2 separate regions of the Homo sapiens genome follow, and region 2 is linked to region 1. The links are contacts of gene promoters, found by promoter capture Hi-C in blood cells and fetal thymus (Javierre and others, 2016). All regions are on one chromosome and are shown on one strand. Each heading gives the region's core, a stretch centred on a gene start or on the middle of the fragment in contact. The rest is flanking DNA. Distances are from core to core; before and after follow the strand shown. Region 1 holds the start of FBXO21 (F-box protein 21). Region 2 overlaps PRKAB1-AS1 (PRKAB1, TMEM233 and CCDC60 antisense RNA 1).

Region 1 (3,109 bases), core at 306-2,805:
ATCCGTTGAACCCATTTGAGAAATAATGCTGATCTGGACTCCGTCTACATTGTGCTGCGTGGGTCCCTCCCTGCTCCCTCCACCCCCACTCTCTCTCTGGCTTTAGAAAAGTAAAGCTGGCACAGACAAATGGCTTCGTGTTGTTGGATAGGAGGAAAAGGACACAATGACTCTTGCAGCCATCTAAGTGAGTAAGGGATTGTGAGAGCATTGAAAAGGGAGATACGAAAAGAGCTGGATGAGCTCATGCCTGCAGACCCAGACACATACACCAGCAAGCCAAAGCTTAGAGCCACATCAACAGATCCTTACGTGCTCTGAAAAGAACCTCTTTGAGAACGAGGCTACAATCTTCCGCGCTTCTAACCCAGCTTTTTGCCGAACTTTATACTCTTCCAACCAATTGACGTAGTCGGTGGGGCTGTAGTGTTTCATAAGGGAAGGCCACCTACGAGGAGAGAAACACCCCCTCAGCTTAACAGAAACTCAAAGGCAGGCGGCCACGAATCCAAGGCAGCCTTGGAAACAGGGACAGCAGTGGCGTCCAGTGGTAAGAGGGACCCCGGCGAGAGACCTAGTTCAAAACCCCACCAGCATTCACTCACTCACTCCCGGTGTGACCTTGGCGTAGCGGCATGAATGATGTCTCCATTCCCCATCTCTAAAATGGGGACAGTTGTAACAACAACAACAATAATAATAATGACAATGACAGTGAGCACTGATTGAGCGCCTCCTAGGAGCCGGGGCCCTGCGTGCGTGCCTCCCGGACATCATCTAATTTAATAAACACGGTGAAAGGTAGGTCTAATGATCACCACCACTCAAAGTCTATGAACGAGGCTCAAAAAAAGGGAAGTCGCTCCCCCCAAGGTCACAGAGGGAGTGTGCAGGGCCAGATTTCATCCTGGGGCCACGCTGAAATCTGTGCCGTCCACAACCAGCCCGGGGATGCTGCGCCCGCCCGATCGATGCATCACTGGGTCCATGTAAACATTTCAGCCCGAAGTCGGGCACAAAAGAAGCGCGCAAAAGGGACGAGCCGCGCCGCCGCCAGCGTCACCCTTGACGGAGGACCCGGCTGCGAGGCGCTCCTAGATGCGCCATTTGGGGACCCGGGGGTCCGCCTGGCGTGGCCCCGCAGGGTCCGGGGCCTGGAGGCCTTTGTCTGTCTGTCCGCGGGAAGGGGTCCGGGGTGGGGTCCGCGCGCGGGGCGGCCGCGGGGAGCTAGCGGGGCGGCTGCCCGGCCCCGGGGGGCGCGGGGCGGTGGGCGCGCAGCCGGGGCGCGGGGCCGCTGGCTCACCTCACCCGGAACTGCTCCTTCCACACCTTCCCGCTGCTCTGGCACAGCTCGCGCAGCCGCCGGCAGGTGCTGGAGACACGGCCGATGTCGGCGGCCGTCAGCGAGCCGCAGCACAGGATGTACTCCAGCACCTCACCCGGCAGGTTGACGAGGCAGCTGAGGCCCGCTACCTCCGGCGCGGCCTCCTCCGCCAGCGCCGGCACCACCTCCATCGCGCTGTCGACTGCTGCCGCCGCCATCTTGTCCGCGTACCTGGGGCCGCCGCGCGCGCGCGTGCGAGAGTGCCCGGGCGCCCCGCCTGGCCCCGCCTACTGGTCTTGGGGGCGAGTCCTGAGATCGCTCCGCCCATCCGCGGGCCACACCTCCCCTGCATCGGCTGGGGGCTGCGCGGGTGGCAGCGCCGCAAAAGGGAGGACATAATTGGGCTCTGTGCTTGGAGCCGGCAGCGCAAGCCGCCTCTAGTCCGGGACAACAATAGTAGCACTGATTCTTTTAAACGTAATTAATGTTTAAAATTAACAAATAAAAATGGTATCTATTCTCACGCGTGCTGAGCGCTTTCTGTGCGCATTGGACCTTTCCGAATTACCCTGCGAACTTTCTCCCCATATTACAGATGGGGAAACAGGTTCGGAGAGTGAGAGGGCTTGCTCAGGATCCCTTGTCTTGGATTTTTTTTCCCCCTTTGGGAAGGAGTCTTGCTCTCACCCAGGCTGGAGGGCAGTGGCGCTATCTCGGCTCACTGCAACCTCTGCCTCCTGGGTTCAAGCGATTCTCCTGCCTCAGCCTCCCGTGCGGATGGGATTACAGGCGCGCGCCACCACCCAGGTTGGAGTGCAGTGGCCGTGATCTCGGCTCACTGCAACTTCCACCTCCCTGGTTCAAGCAATTATCCTGCGTCAGCCTCCCGAGTAGCTGGGATTACAGGCGCCCGCCACCACAGCCAGCTAATTTTTGTATTTTTAGTAGAGACAGGGTTTCACCATGTTGGTCAGGCTGGTCTCGAACTCCTGACCTCAAATGATCCACCCACCTCGGCCTCCCAAAGTGCTGGGATTACAGGCGTGAGCCACCGCGCCCAGCCCCTTGTCTTGGATTCTATTTCAGATCCACTTGACTTTTGCTTGTCAGTAATCTTAACCATATGATGTAATAATAACAATATTCTTGAGTGGGTGCTATGGGAAGCCCTCTATGATGGTGTAGGGGAGTAATAATAATCCTCAAATGTGTGCCCTGATTTTAGGCTAATAGAGGGCAGGCAGAGAGCTCTCCTGTACTGGTTTCTTAATTGTTTCCAGCTCAACAATCCTTCATATTTGGGGAGCATAGTCTGACCTCCCACAATAGGTACCACAGTTATACCTATTCTACAGAAAAGGCAAAGTTCTTCCAGGTGGCAGTCACTGGTTCAAAGTTACAGAGACAAAAGTGCTAAAGCCTGGATTTGAGTCTTCAAAGCGGGAGTTATCACTCAGGATTGGGAGGGTAGTCTCAGGATCTGCACATTAAAAAAAAAAAATCAGTTTAGTTCAGTGCCAAAGCCCTGTGTTGTGTGCCCTGGGGATACAGGGGTGAGAAAAATGGAGTCTTTGCTTCAAAACCTCAAAGTGCAATTACAGTTAGAAGGATCTGTTGTCAGTACATGGAGGGTCCAATGAAGTACTCCTGGCAACTTGGAAATCAAGATGCCCTGAGAGAGCTGAACTAGTAAAGTGACTCTCAATGGATGGCGTTGAGCCATCTGTGGCTCCCTATTTCCCGTAGAAATGAATGTGACATCCCAAACATTGTTGCAAAGCAACA
Region 2 (3,598 bases), core at 391-2,890, 2.5 Mb after region 1:
TAAAAGTCTCCATGGTTCATCATATCAAGAAGAATGATAATCTCACAGTACCCTGGACCAGAAACCAAGACATAAGATCCAAATTATGATCTATGACCACTAACTTTTTCTATAATTCAGCAAGCTATTGTCCCTCCTCATCTGTAACCTATGTGGTTGAACTAGGATTTTCATGCAATTAGTGTGTCTTGGGAGGTGTTTCTGAGTATTTATTTGGAAGGTGCTCCTAAAAAGAGATAAAGAAAAGGAAAGGAAGATAATCAATGAATTCCTTGATCCAATTACTGCTGTGGACATCTAGGGTGCATTTCCACTGGGGACCTCTGAGACACGGTAGGGAATATATCTTAGTTATACGAGAGCTAAAAAGAAATTATTTAGACAGTTAGTGAGGGTAAGAGAGTCCTCAGTAAGGTTTTTCTTTTAATAAAAACGCAGTCTCCAAATCATTTCTTTTTTTAACAAAAAGCAGCCTGAAAAATCAAGCTGCAAGCATAGATAAGCAAGCTAGAGGCTTGCATAGGTAAATACCAGCAGCTGTGCCAATAGAAAACAGATAGCTGGAAACCAGGTATATTCAACATGGAGGTTCCCTCTTCCCTTTTCTTTGTTGCCACGTGTGCAGATAACATGGCACCAGCCAGGTTTTTTAAAATTCCATTTGCATAATAAAAGATTAGAGTGGGATGACCAGCCTCTTCACGGGCTATGAAAATGGCACATCTGGTCCAACCAATCCACTACACCCCATGTAAATCATATACCATCTCCTCACGCTCATCCCTAAAACCAACCACACCTTGCCCCAAACCAGGGAAACCCACTCAGGACCCCTTCTTCTGCATGAGGAAGCTCTCTTCCTTCTTTCATCTATTTAACTTTCCACTCTTAAACCCACTCCTTGCATGGCCATGTCTTCAATTTCCTTAGCATGAGACATCGAACCTCGGGTGTTACCCCAGAAAAATGACGCTGCTTCATTAGAGTTAGCACATCCAAGGGGCAAGGGAACTGGCTCCTCTGTGGTTGGCTGAGGGCTTCTCTCAGGGTGTCTTCTCTGGTCCCCTTGGGTTCCCACTTGTGTCGACAAAGCTTTCTCCAGAAGGCCCTCAGAGTTGCACCTGCTCACAGTTAGGAAGTTTGGGGCATGCGCAGAAGGGCACATGCAGATGGGGTATGATGGTCCCAACAGCATATGTTAAAGTGATTATGAAACTTTGATATTCAAATCCCTGGGAGCTTACATTTTAAAGAGATGAGACAGAGACAGACTTCCTCTCATTGTTTTCACCTCCGTTGGATCTTTGCCTGGATACTGCTTTAGTTTGTCACTTGTCCTCTAGAAAAGGGGTAGAAAGTGTACATCCTTTTCTCCTCCATTCCTTCAAAGCTCTTAAAAGAGGATAGAGATGCCAGGTGCAGTGGCTCACACCTGTAATCCCAGCACTTTGGGAGGCCGAGGAGGGTGGATCACCTGAGGTCAGGAGTTTGAGACCAGCCTGGCCAACATGGTGAAACCCCGTCTCTACTAAAAATACAAAAAGTAGCCAGGCGTGGTGGGGTGCGCCTGTGGTCCCAGCTACTTGGGAGGCTGAGGCAGAAGAATCGCTTGAACCCGGGAGACGGAGGTTGCAGTGAGCCGACATTGCACCACTGCACTCCAGCCTGAGTGAAAAGAGTGAAACTCCATCTCAAAAAAAAAAAAAAAGAGGATAGACTTGAGGTGAACTTTATTAAGAACATTGTGTTACCTTGAACTGGGCACTTCTCCCTTCTAGGTTTCAGCTTACCCTGTGAGTGAAGCTATTTATTTAAAAAAAACTTTATTGAAAATAAAATAAAGATACAGGAAACTACACAAAAGAAATGTATGGCTTAGTAAGTTACTACAAGGCAAACATGTTAATAATTACCAACCCAGGTCAAGAAACAGAATTTTCTCAGACAACCTAAAAGTCACAAAATGAGGCTATTTGCCAATTAAGGTTGTAGACCAAATGCTGTAGAATGAACTTCTTTTAATTCTATGTTGATGACTCTCTGTCACAATATTCACATCTCAGTGCAAAGAGAACACAAGAATGTCTAGCAAGAAAAGATGGACAAGTTTCTCAAACATTGGCAGTGTTACTTACATTGGCTAGGCAAAATTCAGAAGGCCTGGTGGAAATCTGGTTAAGCCCTAAAAGTAAGCTTGTAATTCTATCCTAGCAGCCCACACACATTTGAGTCTGTCTTAGTCAGCTCAGACTGCTATAACAAATCATCAACTGGGTGGCTTAAACAACAGAGATTTACTTCTCCCAGGTCCGAAAGCTGGAAGTCTAATATCAGTGATATAATTTGGATACTTTTCCCCCTAAATCTTACACTGAAATGTAATCCCATGTTGGAGGTGAGGCCTCCAACATGGTGGGAGGTGACTGCATCATGGAGGTGGACTTCTCATGAATAGTGTAGCACCATCGTCTTGGTGCTGCCCTCACAAGATCTGGTTGTTTAAAAGCGTGCGGCACCTCCTCCCACTTTTTTTCTTACTCCCACTCTTGCCATGTGATACATCAATACATCGGCTCCCCCTTGGCTTCCTGAGGCCTCACCAGAAGCAAGCAGATACCCAGAGCCATGCTTGCTGTACAGCCTACAGAACCATAAGCCAAGTAAACCTCTTTTCTTTATAACTTACTCAACCTCAAATATTTCTTTATAGCAATACAAGAATGGCCTAATACAATCAGGGTGCCAGGATGGTTGATGTGTGGTGAGGGCTCTTTCCCTGAGTTGCAGATGGCCGCCTTCTTGCTTTGTCATCACATGGCCTTTCCATTGAGCATGGGCGTGAATAGACAGCATGCGAGCAAGCTCTCCAGCGTCTCTTCTTCCCATAAGTACCCTGATCTCATCATGGGGGCCCCACTCTCATGAGCTCATCTAACCCTAATTACCCCTTGAAGGCCCCACCTCCAAACATTATAAAATTGGGAGTGGGAGTGCAAATGTATGAATTTTGGGGGGATACAATTTAGTCTACAGCATAGTCCAAATGTGAAATTTCTTCCTCCAGCTACCGATGTTTAGTGAGAACACTGCCTGTTCTCACCACATGTGCATATGTGTGTGGACTCTTTCCTCTGGAGGGCAAGAACTTGGTTTTGTTCACTGTTGTAACCAAGAGTTACAACAGTGCCTGGCTCATAATTGGCACTCAATATTGCCATTGAGTTATTTGTGATCAGAGCCCTGGCTGTTCTTAGATGGGGAGGGTTCTTCAGAACAGTACAAATGTTTGTAGACAGGCCAGCTGGGGAACCAAAGGTCTTTTTGATGAGGTGCCATGACCATGATGTAGTGGGGAGTGGCCAGGTGATCCAGAATTCAGTCTCAGTATGACCTATGATCATCTGAGTGACCTCAGGCAAAACTGTTCGATCTCTGGGACTTAGACTCTTCCTTATATAAAACAAATGGGTTGGTCAGTTCAGAAGTGCTATACTGATTCTAATCCATCCTATGGAGGAGGCCCCAAAACATTATCCTTAACCCTTTTAATCATAAATTTAAGGATAAATGAGATTTTATCTCACTCTGGGTGACTTTT

What was found. Contacts are between HindIII fragments. The CHiCAGO score rates a contact against its expected background, and 5 or more counts as called.
Region 2: a contact is called between a fragment that was not itself captured here and the fragment with the promoter of FBXO21 in region 1, in 1 of 17 cell types (non-activated CD4 T cells). The highest score is 6.3, in non-activated CD4 T cells.

What each region holds. Positions count from the first base shown.
Region 1 is chr12:117,188,915-117,192,023 of GRCh38, forward strand. FBXO21 (F-box protein 21) reads right to left here and starts at 1,556. Exons shown (of 12, transcript NM_015002.3): 1 at 1,304-1,556; 2 at 313-448. The coding sequence starts at 1,542. RefSeq lists an enhancer at 683-772 and silencers at 1,243-1,292, 1,573-1,672, 1,713-1,772. The HindIII fragment of the contact is 6,345 bases long and covers 284-3,109 here.
Region 2 is chr12:119,661,531-119,665,128 of GRCh38, forward strand. All of the region lies in intron 1 of PRKAB1-AS1 (PRKAB1, TMEM233 and CCDC60 antisense RNA 1), which reads right to left. Among named protein-coding and RNA genes, the nearest start is that of PRKAB1-AS1, 4.8 kb to the right of the region's middle. The HindIII fragment of the contact is 1,101 bases long and covers 1,091-2,191 here.